Linked DNA regions of Homo sapiens: all the other regions are linked to region 5. The links are contacts of gene promoters, found by promoter capture Hi-C in blood cells and fetal thymus (Javierre and others, 2016). All regions are on one chromosome and are shown on one strand. Each heading gives the region's core, a stretch centred on a gene start or on the middle of the fragment in contact. The rest is flanking DNA. Distances are from core to core; before and after follow the strand shown. Region 1 has its middle 44 kb from the start of INHBB. Region 2 has its middle 74 kb from the start of LINC01101. Region 3 overlaps LOC105373989 (putative cuticle collagen 91). Region 4 has its middle 16 kb from the start of INHBB. Region 5 holds the start of PTPN4 (protein tyrosine phosphatase non-receptor type 4). Region 6 overlaps RALB (RAS like proto-oncogene B).

What was found. Contacts are between HindIII fragments. The CHiCAGO score rates a contact against its expected background, and 5 or more counts as called.
Region 1: a fragment that was not itself captured here is called in contact with the fragment with the promoter of PTPN4 in region 5 in 10 of 17 cell types (total B cells, naive B cells, total CD4 T cells and 7 more); the score reaches 13.6 in total B cells.
Region 2: a fragment that was not itself captured here is called in contact with the fragment with the promoter of PTPN4 in region 5 in 1 of 17 cell types (neutrophils); the score reaches 6.8 in neutrophils.
Region 3: a fragment that was not itself captured here is called in contact with the fragment with the promoter of PTPN4 in region 5 in 7 of 17 cell types (total CD8 T cells, monocytes, naive B cells and 4 more); the score reaches 8.4 in total CD8 T cells.
Region 4: a fragment that was not itself captured here is called in contact with the fragment with the promoter of PTPN4 in region 5 in 1 of 17 cell types (neutrophils); the score reaches 5.5 in neutrophils.
Region 6: a fragment that was not itself captured here is called in contact with the fragment with the promoter of PTPN4 in region 5 in 12 of 17 cell types (total CD8 T cells, total B cells, monocytes and 9 more); the score reaches 11.1 in total CD8 T cells.

The regions. Positions count from the first base shown.
Region 1 is chr2:120,300,332-120,303,773 of GRCh38, forward strand. No RefSeq gene overlaps it. Among named protein-coding and RNA genes, the nearest start is that of INHBB, 44 kb to the right of the region's middle. The HindIII fragment of the contact is 1,080 bases long and covers 901-1,980 here.
Region 2 is chr2:120,538,890-120,542,066 of GRCh38, forward strand. No RefSeq gene overlaps it. Among named protein-coding and RNA genes, the nearest start is that of LINC01101, 74 kb to the left of the region's middle. The HindIII fragment of the contact is 6,352 bases long and covers 1-3,177 here.
Region 3 is chr2:120,329,933-120,332,925 of GRCh38, forward strand. All of the region lies in intron 1 of LOC105373989 (putative cuticle collagen 91), which reads left to right. Among named protein-coding and RNA genes, the nearest start is that of INHBB, 15 kb to the right of the region's middle. The HindIII fragment of the contact is 6,192 bases long and covers 1-2,993 here.
Region 4 is chr2:120,360,821-120,363,814 of GRCh38, forward strand. No RefSeq gene overlaps it. Among named protein-coding and RNA genes, the nearest start is that of INHBB, 16 kb to the left of the region's middle. The HindIII fragment of the contact is 4,907 bases long and covers 1-2,994 here.
Region 5 is chr2:119,758,465-119,761,832 of GRCh38, forward strand. It overlaps PTPN4 (protein tyrosine phosphatase non-receptor type 4), which reads left to right and starts at 1,458. Exons shown (of 27, transcript NM_002830.4): 1 at 1,458-1,920. LOC101927764 (a long non-coding RNA gene) reads right to left here and starts at 1,250. Exons shown (of 4, transcript XR_007087215.1): 1 at 1,168-1,250. RefSeq lists silencers at 1,000-1,109, 1,660-1,959 and enhancers at 1,149-1,443, 1,160-1,419, 1,690-2,314. The HindIII fragment of the contact is 4,728 bases long and covers 1-2,229 here.
Region 6 is chr2:120,281,180-120,284,647 of GRCh38, forward strand. All of the region lies in intron 2 of RALB (RAS like proto-oncogene B), which reads left to right. Among named protein-coding and RNA genes, the nearest start is that of RALB, 30 kb to the left of the region's middle. RefSeq lists an enhancer at 2,454-2,967. The HindIII fragment of the contact is 1,412 bases long and covers 601-2,012 here.

The DNA of each region.
Region 1 (3,442 bases), core at 191-2,690, 540 kb after region 5:
CTACACGAGGCCCGCTTTGAGGACTTTTTAGAAAGGATGTAGTACAAGTTTTAAAACTAATTTGGGCCCTTGGGTTTAAGGCTGTTCTTCTCTATTTGAGTAGATATGAATGAAAAAAGAGACTTCCTCCAACACCCTTCCGCCCCAGCCTTTGTCTAATTCAAGTGCTAGAGCTTGTCCTGACACACCGCAGCTTGCTGTTCATTTCTACTTGTTCAGTTGTGTGCCACCAAGCTAGACGTGTTCAGTCACACTGACAGTACTGTCAGGATGATTCATTGCCACACACGTAGCTCAAGTCGGAATGGGGCCTCTGGTCGTGTCTGAGAAGCACAGAAACCTGGCTAAGCTGAGGATTCGGCCTCCCACCCAGGTTGGTGAAGGTGCTGCGGCCTGGGAGCAGGAACGGAGCCCCCAGCTGCCAGGAGTGTGAAGCTGCTTCTCCGCAGTGCAGCCTCCACAAGCCTTCTCAGGTGGCAGTGAAGAAGGACCAGATACCTAAACAGTTTTCAAGTTCCGGAATCCTTGGGAAAGTTAGTGTCCATCAACTTCACATGTTAAAACAAGCTTACGGCTGGGCGCGGTGGCTCACACCTGTAATCCCAGCACTTTGGGAGGCTGAGGCGGGTGGATCATGAGGTCAGGCGATCGAGACCATCCTGGCTAACACAGTGAAACCCCGTCTCTACTAAAAATACAAAAAAAAATTAGCCGGGCGTGGTGGCGGGCGCCTGTAGTCCCAGCTACTCAGGAGGCTGAGGCAGGAGAATGGTGTGAACCCGGGAGGCGGAGCTTGCAGTGAGCTGAGATTGCGCCACTGCACTCCAGCCTGGGCGTCAGAGCCAGACTCTGTCTCAAAACAACAACAACAACAACAACAACAACAACAACAACAAACCAAGCTTACTTATTTCTAGTAGTTAAAAACATCTCAAGGTGAGTGTTGCACAGGAATCAAAGGGATGAGCTGGTTAACTTCTTATGGGCTAAGTCATCAGTTACTTCTTGTGTATTTTCAGTAGTTGCAGCTGGGAAAGTTTTCCTAAAATCTGATTTATGTGGCGAAAACACATGTATGATATTATTTTAATCCTGTGGTAAAACTCTGTGAGTCTAGACTGCCTTAATTAGCCACACATTGGTTTGAGTGAGAATCTAAGACAAGAAGATGTCCTGACCCATGAAGTTTCTTCATCCCAGCGCAGCTGGAAACGTAGCCCCAGGCCAGGGTTTCTCAGCCTGGGGGAGGGCTGCGGCATTCTGCAGGGGCTGGCACTCAGTGAAGTGGGGGAAGTGCTGGGGACTCGATTCTGGCTGTGGAGACAGCAGTGGAGTGTGGCTTCCTTAAAGGCCCTGACTTCCTGGGTCAAGGTAACTAAGATACCTGTGTAACTTTAAGTCAGCACTTATCCATGTGCGATTGGCCAACTTATCAACTCATCTGTGCAAATTATGTTCTTTATTAGGGAAAAATTGCTTTTGGTATGTGTATGGATTTTTTTTTTCTCCTGCAGAGATTCTTGAATTGTATGGGTGTAGGAAAATACCCCTTTCTTCTTTTTGTCTTTTCATGGCTAAGTCGTATTCCTTACCTCAGGCACAGGGCAGGGGCTACATGTTCCAGAAACACACATCAGTCGCCATTGCAGCCGCTTCCACTTCTGCCAGGCTGGTTGGGGCAGAGTCACCAGGGACCTCCCCCTGCACAGTCAGTGGCCGTTTCCAGTCTTTACAGTATTGCCAGTGCTCTCGTGCCTGACTGAGCTTTCTCCTGCTTCTCCTTTCACCTCTCTCCCTGCTCGGGGTCTCACTCCTTTACTGCCCACTGTGGTGGTGCGCACCTGTAGTCCCAGCTACTCGGGAGGCTGAGGCAGGAGAATCACTTGAACTCGAGAGGCAGAGGTTGCAGTGAGCCGAGATCGTGCCACCGCACTCCAGCCTGGGTGACAGAGTGAGATGGGAAAAAAAAAAAAAGAATAAAGCTTATTGACGTATAACATACAAACAATAAAAGGTCTTTGTAAAGCCCCGTTCTGACCCTCTGCTCACCCTTAAGTACCGTGTAGCTGCTCTGCAGCCTTTCTGGACGCGCCGAGGACTTTCCCTGACGTGCCTCATGAGCCCCTCACAGCTCCTTCTGCGGCTTCGTGCTCCTCTCAGTCCCTGTTGTCGTGTGAGCCCCATGAGCACAGAGACCACACACTGTTCACTCTGTGTCTCCGGGCCCTCTATTGATGTGGACTCATTGCAGGATCTTGGGTGTTGGCTAAACTGAATGAGTTAGCTTAAATGTAAAATCATGTCGCCTTGAGGAAGTGCTTCAAGTTTCTCTATAAAGCAGGGGCTCTCTTTTGAGGACTGGTACCAAGAGACATAGTGAAATAAGAGCTAGAGCAGTGATCTTAGAAGTCTGACCAGGTTCTGTTTCTCTAAACCCAGATTGGAGGACTGATTGTTTTCTCAGTGAGAAAGTTTTCTGCTAAGTTGAAAGTAGACACTTGCCGTCTGCCTTGCCGCTCCCCACCCTTAAATCCGGTGGTGGTGAGCTCGCCCTCACGTTCTTTTCTGCCCTGTTTTTCTTCCGTTAAACGTTTGCTGGCCGGCATGCCTTCTCCCTGGTATCCCCCAGAACATAGTTTTCCGTTTCTACTTTTCAGCCTCCTCTTCTTCCTTCCTTGTTTTCCTGACCTCACACGCTTTGGAGATGTGGTCTGGTAGTCATGGTGGTCTTCCCACTCAGGTCTCTCCCTGTTTCTGTCCACTGTAGGAACCCCTGCCTTGGCAGCTGGCTTAAGTACTACCCAGATTGCACTCCTGCCCGTCGCCTGCAGAAGTAAGTACAACTGATTTAGCCAGCGTTAGAGCAAACGATGGAACTGCCTCAACTGAACACACACCTAAGTGAGCCATGGCGCACCAATGCTGTGGAAATGCAGCTTTGGATAAGCCTTCTCCATCCCCCACCCCAGCTGTTCCTCCAAACCTCTCCTCTGTAGGGATTCTGGAGCGCTCTATCAGAGCCCCCAGGGACCTCACCCCATCTGGATGCCTGCCATCCCTCCACCTGCACCCTTGCCGTTCAGCACTCTCCTTCTCCCTGAGCAGTGCCTGTACTTGGCATAGAGAGGTTGCTCTGGCTGAGGAATCACACAGAGCTCTGTGAATTTCAGCTCTGCCCCATGTGGGCTTTGTGAGCCAGCAAGTCTGTAGAACGAAGGTGGTTAGAGTGGCCTCACAGGTGATTGTAAAGATGGATGCTATGCAAAGCCCCTTCCTTTCCCCTCATCGCTCTGTGCCTCTTCTCATGCAATTCATTCCGCCTGGACTCTTACTCTCCTCCAATTTCTGACACAGTTCTACCCATCCTTTCAGGGCCACCACCCCGCAAAGGTGCTCCTTCCTCCACACAGATGTCCCACATCTCGAGCTCCACACTGTGCAC
Region 2 (3,177 bases), core at 273-2,772, 780 kb after region 5:
TAAAATGTGGCTCAGACCAGCCACCCAGGAAACAAAATGGGGAGCGTTTGTCCACTGGGTCGCGTTCATGGGCAGAGCACACCGCACTTCTGGGCTGGCCATGCACAAAGGCTGAGGGCTGCAACATTGGAGAGGCACCAAGGGTGGTCACAGGCAAAGGGCCGTCACCTCTGCACAAAGCTGCTGCAAACCCACACGGAGCCAGTCTCCCTTGAAGTGGTGCCCAAGAGGTGTCTGAAACATCCTATAAAATCAAAAGCCCTGCACCCCGGCACACAGTGAGCTCGAGGGCACAGATTCTACCATAATCAGCTCTTCGGCACCACTGAAGGGAGGATCTCAACAAATGTTTGCTGAAAAAGAATGAAAAGCTGATAGAGGAAGGCACAGACAGGTTAATGGTTACCTTTGGGTGGGAGGTTAAGGGCTTCCCCCGACCCCATCTCTCTGTATTTCCTATGCTTTCTCTAATAGAAACGTTCTTTTCATGAGGAAAACATTGTATTTTCCTGTTTTAAATCCCCTCAATAATTTCAGAAGGTATTGCAGAGGAAGAGTGAGCCTCTGACAGATAAATGCTCTTTTCTCTCGAGTGATCTGATGACAAAGTCATCCACAGAGACTGGTGTTTCCCACTGGTCATTTTGATCTTAGCCAGCCGGTTGTCATAAATAAAAGGGCCGTCCCTCGCAGCCCAGAAGACAGGCCATGGGTTGAATGCTTTTGTTCTTTTTCTGGGAGTGAGGGGTACTGTAGACTGAACCAGGCACGTGGGCTAGAGAGGAAAGAACGCTGGCTTCAAAGCTGGCCAGGCTCTACTCCTGGCGATGCCCCCACCAGCCGAGTGACCTAGGGCAGGCATACAGCCTCTCTGATCCTCCAGTTGCTCTTCTCCAAAGCAGTTCCCGGCAGAGCTGGAGGAGGATCGGGAGCGAAGGGGCCTTCCTCACCCAGTGGGGCTCAACAAAGATCAGTTCTTGTGCCGTCCTTCCTGGTTTGTGATCAGACCATGCGAGGGAAAGCCGGCCCTGACAACTGCCTGCGGTGGGGAGCCAGGGAGGACAGGGCAGTGGGCGGGTGCAGCAGGCACAGCAGCCAGGACTCCCAGTGCCCGGGCCTGGGCCCATCCCCTTCACTGCATGGAGCACAGGTCAAGTGCCAAGTGTCCCGCGATGACCATTGATCACACAGCCCAAACAAGCCCGAGATTTGGTTTTATTTCTCCTCTGGAAATTTAAGGACAATAGCAGTCTCTTCCTTAGGAAACTTTGGAGTGGACCAAATCACATGTGCGTGGCACTTGATTAACAATGGCGCTACAAGGGAGTGTTTGATGTGCACCAGGGACTCTCAGCGTTTCAGTCCTCACCATAGACCTGCCAGCCCAATAGGAAACTGAGGTGGACAGCAGGGAGGAGAGTAACCTGTCCAAGGCCACATGGCTTAGTGGCTCAACTGGGAATGAGACCTGGTCTGACTTCAGAGCCTGAGCTCTGATCCCCTACGCTGTGAGTCTCTGGACACGGCGGTGCTGCTTGTTTATTTTTGCAGCGGGGTGCTGTTGTTGCTGACACGTCTGTGCCCATGTAAGGCTGGGCCTGCTGCTTCTGCTGGAGCTGGCCCTTTAAGCCTCCCGGGTGTGGGGAGCCTGCCCTATGGTGCAACCCTGTTCCCTGGAGCTGGCGGCATTACTGCTACAGTAAGGAATGTCCCTGGGGAGATTTAGTGCCTGGTGATAGACATGTGGGCTTGATTTACCCCCGCACTGCTCCATTCAGCCCTAGGCAGGCAGTGCACCGGGGCAGAGTTGGTGAATAACTAGAGAAACCAGAGGGGTGCACAGGGTGCTGGGCGAGGGGGCACGGAGCCCGCAACTGAAGGGCACTTTTCTGTGCCAGGCCTGTGATCTCAGCAACTACTCAAAACAAGCCTATCAGGTTACACATCCATTTTACAGAGGAGGAAACGGAGGCTCAGCGAGGTGAAGCCACCTGACCCAGGGAGTAGTCAAAAGAACTGAGGAAATCTTTGCTTACTGCAAGGAAGGGCCTCCTGGGACCATGGCATTTGTCTGAGCCTCTGGGACCAGGCCCTGGGGGCTCCGAGCCACTATCCCAGCCCTGCCAATCTTCCTGTCACCAGAATCCAGACCCTTCTCACAGGGCTCTCAGTTCTGCAAGCCCCCTGTTTCCAGTTAGTGAGAGACTCCCTTTATCAGCCTTGGCAAGGAGCCCTTCAGTCTGCCAAGCCCACCCCTGGGCCCTGGCAGGGTCTCTGGCAGGAATGGCTGGAGGGGCTTCCCTTTCTGTCTTCCATGCCGTCTGGGGACCTTCCCACCTCCTCCCCTTTGTCCTTGCTGTCTGCCGTCTGCCACCCCCTCTGCCCATCCCTCCTGTCCTGCCCAGGTGCCGCCTCTGCACAAGGCCTTCCCTGACTGTGCGCTCAGGGCTCTCCTCTTCTCTCTGGCCTTAGTGCCTGGTGACTGCACAGGATGGAGAGCTCAGCTCTGGCCTCTGCGGTTTTGCCCTCATTTCTGATCTCTCTCATCTGGCCACCTCCCCAGGAGATCTCAGGAAGATACCCTGCCAGGGCACCTTGAGAAGTCAGATGGTGCCATGGGCTCTTCCTCGCCTCCCAGCACCTGCCCAAAGCATCAGCCGGTGAGGACCTTAGCGCCCCAGTGCCCTCAGCTTCAGCAGCTGAAGGAGGCTGCTGGGCCTGGAGGGGAGCAGAGCTGGGCCAGCCAAGGGTGCGCATTGTGTGGCTATGCAGCCTGGGTGTGTCACCGCCTGGTACGCCCAGATGTAAGATGAGTGGGCTGACCCAATTCCTTTAATTCCATCCCTTTAGGAGACTGAGGTTCAGTCTCCACACTGTGCTCATTAAGGCAGGAAGGAGGGAGCTGCTCATGGCCCACAGTGGCCTATCATTTGGAGTTATTGAGCACAGACTGTGCCTGAGTTAGCCACAGAGCCCTGAAGGTGCTCCCGCCCCCCGGTGTCCTCATGAAACCTTGAGTTTCACTCATCACGGTGCTGCTATTGCAGATACTCTACTGGGCGGATGCCACCTGCCTGCTGCTTGCAGGATCGTAAATGGGCAGTGCCCAAGCAACAGAGCAGGTAAGCAAGGGAGGACATCCCCCGATTCCTCAATGGAGGAATCACCCCTTTCCCA
Region 3 (2,993 bases), core at 182-2,681, 570 kb after region 5:
GTGTGTGGGGCTTTCGGGAGGTCTTGCTCCCTGTCTGCCAGGGGCCTGACACTCCAGGGGCAGCCCCGACTGGGAAGTGCCCCAGCCCTGCTGGTGGACAGTGAGTCCAGTCCAGAATCCTACTGAGCCCAGCCTCTTGTTCTGGAAGAAATGAAGTTTCAGTAGGAAAGAAATGAGGGCAGAGCAGGAGGAGTGAATCCGTCAGAACTTACATCTCTTCACTCATTCAGCAAATTCTTGCTGGCCCCCGCTACATGCTGCTTGGGGATAGGGGAGAAATGAGAACTGGAGGGTGTCCAGGTTGCTTTGGCTGTCGGAGAGAGGTCCCAGCCCAAGGTTGTAGGGCACCGGGAGAGCCTGCACAGTCTTGTGCTGTCGGCAGGGGTGTGGGGGGTTGAACATATTTGCAGAGCCCCACCTGCCTGCTCTGGCTCTCTGGAATGGCTCCGCTGTGTTGGGAACAGCTGGTCTTCGCTGCACTTTCCTATCCAGGCCATCCCACAGCCACCATGGCCTGCAGTGGAGCAGGCACCCAGTAAAGACAGGTGATGGTTCTTAGAACCTGCTGTACACCATCCCACCCCTGACCCAAGTGAGGCTGCCGGGGGCACATGCAGCTCCAGGCACTCAGCCTACATCATCTCCCCTGACCCTGCCGGCACCTCTGCTGTGAGCCATGTCCCCTCGAAACTCATATGTCCAAGCCTGAACTCCCAGCACTTCAGAAGGTGACTGTATTTGGAGATTTGGAGATAGGGCTTCTAAAGAGATAATCAAAGTAAAAAGAGGTCATATGGTTGGGCCCTAATCCAGTGTGACTGGTGTCCTTATAAGAAGAGGAGATTAAGACACAGACACACACAAAGGGAAGACCGTGTGAAGACACAGGGAGAGGACGGCCACCTGCAAGCCCAGGAGAGAGGCTGCAGGAGACATCAACCGTGCCGACACCTTGATCTTGGACTTCCAGCCTCCAGAACTGTGAGAAAATAAATCTTGTTGTTTGAGCCATCCCGTCTGTGCTACTTTGTAAGGGCAGCCCTAGCAAACTAACACAGCTTCCGCGGAGCGGGATGTCATCCCCATCTAACAGATGAGGTCTGTAGCGCTGCCAGATGCCACACAAGGAATGCCGGGCCAGTTCCTAAACCTCCCTGAGCCTCTGTTTCCTCATCTGCAAAGAGGGATTAATGATAATTTTGTGGTAAGGATTCAGTGAGATAGGACACAATGCATGTTTGTTCCCCACGCATGCCTCGGCCTGATTTGATTAAGAAGCCCATGGGCCTGGGGCAGAGGCTAGCTGTGAGTTCTGCATGTGGTTGACAGCTGGTGTTGATGAATGGTATGTTAAAAATAAAACCCAAACCAAAAAGCCTTTTGCACTCTATGGAGAACCTGAAATCGGAAGCGCTCAGTTTCATTAGTTGGCAGACGTCTCTGACTTGTGAACCTGACCGGGCACCCTGGGACTCCCTATGTCAAAGTCTTCCTACGGCAGCCTCCAGCGAGGTGGGGGAGGGTGAGAGGGCGCGTCTTCCAGGCACTGTCTGCCTGACTTGACCCTGGTAAAGTGTACACGGGAACAGAGCCCTAGGGACCAAGCCCTCAAGCCCAGGGGCAGAGCTAGCTGCCCGCCTGTAGGCACCATTGGTGCAGTGTCAACCCAGTGGATGTTCCCTGTTAAGCCTGTGCCCTGCTCAGCTCAGCTCGGCTGTGGGAGTCAGCTTCCGTCTGCCTGGAGACACCCGAGGGTGCAGAGCAGCACGTGCAGATATGTTCCTGGGGGCGGGTACCACTTTCTCTTTTATTTGGAAGTTGTCTTTCACAATGAAACAGCCTTTAAGCCACATAACCTTTTTCCATCCCTGAACCTGGAGGGGCCATCGAAATCCTCAATGTCACTCTGGGGGAAGCTGATTCTGGGAGGGACCCAAGGGGGAGGGCAGGCAGGGGCCCTTCTTTGGGTTGGTCCAGAGACCTACTCTGTACCACTCAATTATATTTTAAAATCTATCTGTACGCTTTCACACCACAAGTCCTAAAGCATCTTTAATTAGGTCCCACACACAGATACACACACCCAGCTCAACAATGATAGAAAACGCCAAATTCCAGTTGACAAGGAGCCAGAAGCCCAGCCTTTCCTCTGGCTAAACAGAGGGACCCATTATGCTGGAATATTATTTTCTCATGGTTTGGAACCATTACATCAGCCTTGATGTAATAACATTGTTTAACTTCAGAGGTGTATTTATTTTGGTTTGGAGTTCAGATAGTTTAGCCGTTAGCTGGGGATTGAGCAAAACCCAGACAAAGCCACTAAAGTTTGAAATGAACCATTCTGCCGTTCCCCTTCTCTGCTCCCCAGAATAAATATTCTTCAGATGTAGTTTCATCTCACAGCAAAGGTGGTGACCTGGCTGCTGATAAATTTTGGAGGCAATTTTTTTTCCCCTCTGGTGGTTGGCCAACATGATGATGACCAGCTGGGCACTGAGTGGGTAATCAAGCCCCAAACCCAGTAAGGACTTGGGAATTCCACCAGCAGCTTCTCTGAAGATAGCCTGTGATCTTTCCACGGTTCCTCCATAAGCCCAGCTCTTCTCCTTAAATAACTCGCTACAGGTGGCGCTTTGATCGGTCACCGTGGGGACACAGGGGATGGCTCTTGTTAGCGGCTGAGCCCAGAGGGCCAGGTCTCCAGACAGGAGCTCTTAAGAGCCCCAGAGAGTAACTGGAGGCTTCTAATTGTTTCCTCTGAGCCCAATCCTTGGAATGGGTGGAAAAAACTCTGGTATCTGGGCTGTGATATCCTCTGTGCTGGAGTGCAAGTGACAGGAACTGTGAAATGACCACTGAGGCCGGGTGGTGGAGGCGTGGGAGCCCCAGGGCTTGTTGGTTGGGGAGCCCTCCCAACTGCATGTTCCTTCTAGCTCCATGCATTTCTGTCCCACCCTCCACAGCAACACCACCATGGGGAAGAGTTTCCT
Region 4 (2,994 bases), core at 421-2,920, 600 kb after region 5:
TGCCCAGGGTCACACAGCATGGCAGGGAGGGGCTAGAATTAAATCCCCTGCGTCCTGGGTCACATGCTGAGTCCCCAGCCCTGGTCTTTGGGGTCTGTACCCTGCTGACCTTGTGAGGTGGGCTCGCCCCAGGGAGGGAGGGGGTGCACCCTCTCTCTCCTCCCGCCTGTCCTCTCAGGGCCACCAGAGTGACTGTGATCCTCCTTCCAGGACAAAGCTGAGACAGGGCTCCGGAGTTGTTTTAGGAAATAGTGAAGCAAGCCGACAGCACTGATTCCTCCGGAGTTCATGTCATCTTATTCCCTATCTTTGGCCCAAAGATCCTTCTGCATCAGCGGGTGCGCATGGATTCTGTCTGCCGACACCAGAGCCGCAGAGCCAGACACAGATTGGTGAGCAGTGCTTATGCGTTGAAGGCACTCAGGTTCCATCATGGAACCAGGTCGCCCGAGGATGCTGACCCCATGGAGGCAATCAGGCTGCAGAGAGCTCGAGGAACGCCTGTCCCTGTGAGCTGCTCAGGGACCTAAGCTCTCAGAGTGTCACTGCCGTTGATTCTGGAACAGAGTTTGCAGGCCAAGTCCACAAGCTAAGAATAGTTTTTTACATTTTTAAATGGTTAAAAACAAATCAAAAGAAGAAGAATATTGCATGATGTGAAAATGATATGACATTCAAACTAAATGCCTATACATACAGTTTTATTGGGATGCAGTGACCTCATTCATTTATACGTTAGTTAGGACAGGGACCCATATGGCCTGCAAGGCCTTTAGGGACTTTGGCTGACCCTTTGCAGAAGAAGTTTGCTGGCCACTGATCCAGAGGCTTCCTTGGCTGGCAGATGTCCCAGCAGACCACCACTGCTCCCCTTCTGTCCTCCTCCTGGGACTCTCTCCTGGGTGGCCATGCTGCTTCCATGACCCTCCTCAGCTGACGGGTTCACCTGTGGCCCTGACCAAGACCATCACAGTTTCCTGAACATCAAAATGCATTATCAGTGAGTCTGTTGAAGACATTTAGAGAGTGAGGATCTGGAAGGCTGAGGGTGGCACTCTGTGATTCTTCAGAGCCCTTCTCATGCCCAGCACAGGACAGGACTAAATAAATAAGGGAAACAGATGGGCATTAAGACCAGCAATACCGGCCGGGCACTGTGGCTTATGCCTGTAATCCCAGCACTTTGGGATGCCGAGGCGGGAGGATCACGAGGTCAAGAGATCGAGACCATCCTGGCTAACATAGTGAAACCCCATCTCTACTAAAAATACAAAAAATTAGCCTGGCGTGGTGGCAGGCGCCTGTAGTCCCAGCTACTCGGGAGGCTGAGGCAGGAGAATGGCGTGAACCCGGGAGGCAGAGCTTACAGTGAGCCGAGATAGGGCCACTGCGCTCCAGCCTGGGCGACAGAGCAAGATTCCGTCTCAGAACAAACAAACAAACAAACAAAGACCAGCAATACCACCTTACACCCCTTAGGGTTGGCTACTATCAAAAACATAGACAGTAACAACTGTTGGTGAGGATGTGGAGAAATTGGGACCCTTCTGCCTTGCTGGTGGGAGTGCAAAATGGTACAGTCCTTGTGGAAAACAGTATGGAAGTTCCTCAAAAAATTAAAAAAGGTATTACTATGTGATCCGGCAATTCCACTTCTAGGTATATATCCCCCCAAAACTGAAAGAAGAGCCTTGGAGAGAGATTTGTACGCTGATGTGCGTAGCAGCATTCTTCACGTAACCAAAAGGTAGAAGCAACACCTTTGAACACAGTGTCCCTCAGCAGGTGAACGAATAAACAAACGTGGCATCTCCATACAACAGAATATGATTCCGCCTTCAAATGGAAGGCATTCTGTCAACTGCTACAACATGCATGACCCCTGAGGACATTATATTGAGTGAAACAAGCCAGTCACAAAAAGGCAAACTGCATGATTCCACTTGTGTAAGGAAGTCAACGTGGAGTAGTGAGATTCACAGAGATGCAAAGTAGAATGACGGTTGCCGGGGGTGTGGGCAGGGGAATGCAGAGTTGATTTTAATGGTACAGAATTTCAGTTTTGGGAACATGAAAAAATTCTGAAGCAAGATGGTGGTGATGGTTGCACGACGATGTAAATGTGTTTAATGCAACTGAAGAATACACTCAGAAATGGTTAAGATGGTAAATTTTATGTTAGGTATGTTTTACCACAACTAAAAATTTTAAAAACACCATAAAACGCAGCAGCAGAAGCGCCTTCCCCCGCGGGCAGCCCCGTCTCCAGCCTCACTGGCGGCCGCCATCCATGTCCTCTAGCCCCACGGTCCTCATCCCTTCTCCAGGGTGGGGTGCTCCAGAGCTCCCTCACCTTCCCCAGCCCATGAGGTTCCTCTGTGAGTGAGTGGGTGTGTGTGACCTCTTCCCTGAGATGCCAGGCCTCACCTGAGGCAGAGCTGGAGGCAGGTGTCATAACCACCCCAGAAACCTTAAAAACGGTGCCCAGGATGGTCCCTGAGAGAGTAGGCTGCCTCAGGAGCCTCTCCAGAAAAGGTTGACATGCTCAGCTATGATGTTAGGCCCTGGCCTAAGGCTGGGCCACCTCAAAGAGCAGTCTGGCCAGCTCACCTGGTTGGGTACAGTCCTCAGGACTCAGAGACTCACGTGGGCCACATCTAGAATGGCCACCACCTTTCCCTTGCAGGCCCACAGCGAGTGTGAAGCAGGACTTTGAGCGTGTTCTCTTGGCCACGCATGGAACAGGCACTCTCTCATCTCATTTCATTCTTACACAGCTGTTCAGTGAGACCTGGGCACCATGAGTGCCTGCCCAGCCTTGGATTGCTGCCAGGCTTCAGACCGAGGGGCTTGGGGGGATCTGGACAGGTCTGGAGCCTGGGGCCTTGCCAATTGGGGCTCTGAGACCCAAGGGCTGATGTGGGGGTCAGGAGGGCACCAGGGCCTGCCAGGAACACTTGGCTTTTTTCCCTAAATGTTTTTCTGAAACTGCTC
Region 5 (3,368 bases), core at 208-2,707:
AAGCCATGTGGCTCACATGTGTAATCCCAGCTACTCCGAAGGTTAAGGTAAGATGATCTCTTGAGCCCAGGAGTTGGAGACCAGCCTGACAACATAGCGAGACCTTGCCTCTAAACAAAAATTACATATTGTATGATTCTATTTATATGAAACATTCAATTTCTGGTGGAAGTCTCATATGATCTTTGGTTGGAGGATGACTGGATGTTGACAGATGACAATGAGGTGAAGAGCATTTTAGCAGAGGGAATGGCATGATCAAAGACAAAATGGAGAGTCAGAGGCAGGAATGCATATTTAGGGAGGAATGAATGAGCACTGGCTACAACAGAGATCTGGGAAGAAAAGCAAGTGAAGGAAGTAAAGCTGGAAACATGGATTGACAAGTTGCCTTTTTCAAATGGAAAAACTAACAGGTGTGAGGGAGAAGAGAGTCAATAGAAATTTCTGTCTTTTCCAGATTTGTTCACATTCCCCTGATTTGTAGTCATTTTGTCGGCTTGGGAAAGTGGTTTTTGAAAGATCGTCTTTATAAAGGTAGGCTCTGATAGGATGCTCAAGCTAAGAGCAAGGAAGGACAAAGAAGGCGCCTGGCGACAGAAAAGGGCACTAACAAAAATTGGGCAAAAAGGAAGTGTGGCGGTCCCCAAATCCCTTCTTCCTCCATTTCAGCTGAGATCATTCGCCAGTAGGCAACTGTGGTATTACCAATAAGTTTGTATCACCAATAAAATATTATAATGCACCTGGCTAAAAACCCTGGCGTGATAACACCAAATTCATGTTATTAGAAGGAATTAAATTTTAAAAAGCACACCGTTCCAGGCACACAGAAGGAGCCCCCGAACGTTTGTTTTATAAACGCAGGTTGGTTGCTGAGGCTTTGTTTTGGAGCCTACGTTTAGGAGAGGAAATGATTCAAAACTGCCCCCCAAAACCTATATCCTCCAGGAGCACTGAGGTTGGGGCGACCTGCTGCCAACTGGTCTGGTTTTCCCTTTTAACACACGCTTCTTGCCCACTATCCGGTCCCTGCGGTCAGTGGGTGCAGCAGGGGTCGCAGTCCAAACAACCAATCGCGACGCGGCTGCGGGGCGGGGGCCACAGCGCTCCGCCTCCCCCCTCCAATCCGCCCTCCCAATCCTCCTAGGCCGCTCTCTCTCGCACCTGCGTGTCCCTCTGCGCTCCGACTGGTGCGACTTCTCCCTGCGCTAGCGAGGCAGGGTTTTGGCCTCGCCTCTCGCGAGATCGCCTCCTGTTGCTGCCGCCGCCGCTCCTGGCCACTGACTGGCGGCGCCTGCGCAGCCGCCATGTTCGGTTGCTATGCTGCGGCCTAGGAGAGGGGGTGTGCTTGAGGGAGGAGGAAGAGATAGAGGAGGAGGAGGGGGAGGAAGAGGAGGTGGAGAAGGAGGGGGGTGACTGAGCTCCTCTTGCACTCTCACACACAAACGCTGCCCAGGATTACCCGCCAGCTCACGCCGCGCAGTGCGCTTTTCCGCTCCTCGCGCCCCACCACCAACATTGTTCTCTCAGGACTCCTGGGTCCCAGGGGCCGGAATTGGGCCTGAGCGGGAGAGGAAAGAGACTTGGCTTTGGCCGCGGGGTCGGAGGATTGGGGCCAGGCCCCCTCCCCCACGCACTTTTGGGGGTGTGGATTATCTCATCCCTGCAGGGAGGTAGGAGAGGTCGCCGGCTGCCCGCCTCCCTGCCACCTCCCCAGCGGCGCCGGCCCGCGGCTGCCCAGCAGCATGAGGTGGTGCTGGCGGCTCCGGGTCGTGGCGCGACCGCTGCGGCGGCGGCTGCTCGGGGGGCGCTGAGGTAGCCCCCCGGAGCGGCACGGAGGACGCGCTTCTCCTCTGCGCGCCGGGGCCTCGAGGCTTTTTTTCTCCAGCCGAGAGGACGCGGCTGTGATATACGAAGGTAAGAGGTTCTCCGGTCCCCGCCGGCCTCTCGGCCCTGCACGTTGAACGGGAGGCTCTTACCTGCATGTGTGGCTCCTGGGAGGTGAGCCAGGTGGGGCAAGCCGGAGGTACGAGGATGATTTGAAAGGAAGGAAAAAAGGACAAAAACAAACAAACAAACAAACAAAAAAACGCTTTCTTTCCTTTCTTCCTGGGACCTCTGCTTTTGCGGGGGTTATAGTTGGAATCTCTGTTATGGGTCAGCGAAGGGCCAAGGGATGGAATAGGTGCGGAGATGGAATGTTCCCAGTACCTAAACTCTAGGTAAAGCTTTGGAATCTTGAGTTTTCCATTGCTGGTAGAATTCCTTTTTTTTTTTTTTTTTTTTTTGGCTCATATGAGCGCTTCTTGCACGCTGCATGAGCCAACTATTCCTACCATTGAAGTTTTAAGCCTGTTATGATTCTACCAGTATATACCTGTATTTGGGAATCTGTAGTTGAGCCAAAAAAAAAAAAAAAAAAAAAGTTGAGATGTGGGTAAACAGTGATGCATTTCGCAGGGTTTCCATAAAATGGAACAGCTTACAGTTGCACAGGTGATGTGTGGATGTTTCTGCAAAACTTAGGGTGGAAGATTTTATGTCTGGGCTTGCATCATGTAGTGACATCAGTATGTACAAGGACGATTTGTAGGATTTTTCAAAACGCCTGTTCTAGGATAACTTGTTATGCATCTGCAATATGCCAGCTGCTTTTCGAATAAGAGGTTTCAGTAATACTAAGTTTCTGTGTCCAGATCTTGGGCCCAGTTGAAACAGTACAGCTGATTGGTCACATTTAAAACATATTTATGGAGAAAGATAAAAGGCCAATGTGTCCGACTTGCAAAAGACAATTAGAGTAGAAAGAAGACTGGAACAGTAAAAGCCAGGGCATTTTTAAATCTTGGTTTTCTGAACTTTAACGTGCCAGAGGAAAAAAATTTTTTTTCAATTTTAAGGGGGAAGGAGATGGCCTTAAAATAAAGGATTGTTCAGAGCCTAAACTGTGCTTAATGGAATAGAGCTAGGTATATCATCTAAATCTTGAATTTGACTAATATAAATTCAGCTTTCTTTTAAAGAAAAAACTCGTAAGCAGAAGTTTGTGTATTCTACAGAACCTCTTCACTAGCTCGTAAGTGTGATCATTTTGTGGACATCACTGTTTTTTTGTTAGAATAAATTTATGCTCCAATTACCACAAAAGCAATTTTTATGTCTCTTCGCATTTTTTATGGTACACATATCTTTGTTACATTTTGCATTGAAACACGCACGGTCCCATAGTATCATAATCTTCAGTGATTTATAAGAGAAACAGTCTATTTTGTACATGGGAATGTTTGTCATGTTGCCAGTCTGTTTTAAAAATTTGGCAAGAGGTTTTTAAAATCCAAGGAGGCACCACTATTTTGTAGTTTTTA
Region 6 (3,468 bases), core at 57-2,556, 520 kb after region 5:
TTGTTGGTAGAATTTAGTTCCTTGTGGGTGTAGGACACAGGTGCTCGGATTCTACAAGTTGCCCGCAGGCCCCTGCCATGTGCCGTCTCCATAGGCAGCTCATACCACAGTGGCTTGCTTCTCCAAGGCCGGCAGGACAGTCTCCAGCCAGCCTAGACGGTCTTATAAAATGAAATGGAAACATGGGGGTATTCCCTTCGCCTCACTGAGAGTCACCCGGGGGTGAGATCGCTGGAGTACTCATCTTTAAAACTTTATAATGGATTATGATTTCTCATTCAATGTCAACATTTACTTTAATGTCCAGTATTACGTGTGTAATTTTGTATCTTAAGGAAGGGCCCCCATAATGAATAAGCTTCAAACCCAAACCTGGTTATCCTCCTGGGTCATGCTCCCCATGTCTTATAATGAGACACTTTTGTGTTTGGTACCTGCTTTTCTTTATCTTATTCTGGGGGGTCAAACTGGATAAATCTAATGTAATCTGCTGAATTTCCCCAAAACGTTTTTGCATAAGAGAAGCAGGTTGGGAGATCTGCATCTGCTTTGTAGGTCTTTTGTTTGTTTTTGCTCAAAAACTTATAATTTGCTTACGAAAGCTTTTTTCTCCCCTATAACAGAGGTTGGGGAAGAGAGGGGGTGGTGAGTAGGGGAATTAGGATTAGGGAGATAGGATTAGGGAAGTAGTTGTTAACAGAGGTGAGAGAGGGGGATTTTGCTTCCCCAGGGAATATTCGTAAGTGCCTGGAGACATTTTTGGCCATCACAGCTTGGGGGAAGATGCTACCAGCATCTAGTGCGTGGAGGCCAAGGACGCACTCAGCATCCTACATCACACAGGACAGCCCCGAACAAAGTATTAGCCAGCACAAAATATCCACAATGCCACTGTTGAGAAACCTGCATTAGAGGCAGAGCCGTGGCAGATCCAAGGAGAGAAGATTCCCCTACAGTGTTAGTGATTGAGAGGCCCTGGGTTGCCAGTTCCAAGAGCAAGTTCAGATACAGAGCTGGGGCCGGGCGCGGTGGCTCACGCCTGTAATCTCAGCACTTTGGGAGGCCGAGGCGGGCAGATCACCTGAGGTCAGGAGTTCAAGACCAGCCTGACCAACATGGAGAAAACCCATCTCTACTAAAATTACAAAATTAGCCTGGTGTGGTGGTGCATACCTGTAATCCCAGCTACTTGGGAGGCTGAGGCAGGAGAATCGCTTGAACCTGGGAGATGGAGGTTGCAGTGAGCCAAGATCGCACCATTGCATTCCAGCCTGGGGAACAAGAGCGAAACTCCATCTCAAAAAAAAAAAGATAACAGAGCTAGCACTGCTGAGGAGACTAGGAGAGCCTGGTCTGGAGGTTTCTGGGTGTGTGTGTGTTGGGGAGGGGGGCGGGGGTGGGTAAGAGGAGGGGGCAGATGCATGCAGAAGATTCGAGAGTTTTTTCTCTTCTTTCTGTTCTCTTCACAGAGACCAGGGAAAGCTGTGCCTGGCCTTAGTCTGTTTTTCTCATGGGCTAACATACTTGAGAACTGGAAAGTGGCAGTTATTGAAGAAATTGTAAAATAAAATTGGGGCAAGGAAGGAATAGAAATGAAGTGATGTATGTTTGGGGGAGGAGTTCTAATCGATTTTCTAAAACGGTGCTAATAGAAACTTCCATGATGATGAAAATGTTCTGTATCTATACTGTCCAATACAAGTGGCTATTGTGCATTTGAAATGTGGCTGGTGGCTACTATATTGGACAGAATGGTTCTAGAATCATAATTTTTTAGCTCGAAGAGACCTTAGCAGTAATTGTCAAACCTAGCTGATTATAGAATTTCCTGGGAGACTTTAAAAAAAAAAAACACCTCCTGAATAATATTGGTGGAGTTGGAGAACTGGGACTCTTTCAGTGGTGCTCTTCTGGTGGTTCTGCCGCGTGGCCAGGTGTGGCAGCTCCTGCCTGAGAGATCATCTAGTCAGGAAATTGAGCTCTGTGTTCAGGGAGGCCGGCTGTCTAAATCAAGCTTGTCCAACCTGTGGCTCAGGATGACTTTGAATGTGGCCCAACACAGATTTGTAGACTTTCTTAAAACATTCAGAGATTCTTTTTGCAATATATTTTTTTAGCTCATCAGGTATCGTTAGTGTTAGTGTATTTTATGCGTGGCCCAAGACAGTTTTTCCGATGTGGCCCAGGGAAGCCGAAAGATTGGACACCCCTGGTCTAAAGTCTCCTGCACCATTCAGACTCTTTGTTCATAGTGCATGCTTAACCCTTATTTAAAATTGTTTAGCTTATGTGATGGAATTTTCATGAAGATTAGATTATGGAAGGAGCCATAGTCCCAGAGTCTTTATTCTTGTCTAAGTTCTGACTTTGAGAAAAATTGGAGGGAGCTGCCAGGGTGGCAGCAGTCAGATTTTAAGCTCCTTATGCTCGGCCTAACATACTCGTTTTTGCCTTTTTTGGGAGAGTAAGGTTGGGGATGGAGAGGCTTTGGCAGCAACCGTTTCAGACTTTCAGTCTCTGGCAGCTTAGAGGAAAGTCAGCTTAGAAAGAAAGGGTCCACGTGAAGTTTGTCTTAGACTCTTGGGCATCTGAAACTGAGCCATGCAGAGCTCTGCAAGGCCAGTAGGGGATACGTATGGTTCACGCTAATGGATACAAAGACTTTGTGATTTTCTGTTTCCAGCTGAGCAATGTAAATAAACATCAGGGTTGTAATGGAATGTTGGGGTAATCAGCATACTTTTCATTGAGTACAGAGGTATGTAGGTACAGCAGGACATTCTGACTTCTGTGTCAAAGGAGCCAGTGGAACTCTGGCTGGCTTTATCCTTGGAAGCTCAGAAATATACAGTTGAGATAATTTATGGTAGAATTCAGAGATTTTCAGGGGACAGTCGTGTGTTGGATTTTTTTGGCGTGTATTTTTCTTTTTGGAAAGGAGTTAAAAGAAGGACACTTGAAAGCACAGGCAAGTTTTCACATCTCTATTTGGAGATAATTTATTAGTACACGTTGAAGAGAACCTAATACTAAACATGTCTTAATATTTTTATTTTTGAGTAGCTGTTAACTGACAATACAAGGCTCTTTTTAACAGTCTTCCTCAAATAACCTTTAATTCACTTGGACATTTTCAATTCCATTTTTAAGTTAAAAAAATTTTAAATCACAGCCTTATTAAGATGTAATGCACATATGAAATTCGCTCTTTTTAAAGTGTACAATTTTTTTTTTTTGAGATGTAGTTTTTCTCTTGTTGCCTAGGCTGGAGTGCAATGGCACGATCTTGGTTCACTGCAAGCGCCACTTCCCAGGTTCAAGTGATTCTCCTGCCTCAGCCTCCTGAGTAGCTGGGATTACAGGTGTGCACCACCATACCTGGCTAATCTTTTGTATTTTTAGTAGAGATGGGTTTTCACCATGTTAGCCAGGCTGGTCTCGAACTCCTGACCTCAGGTGATCTGCCTG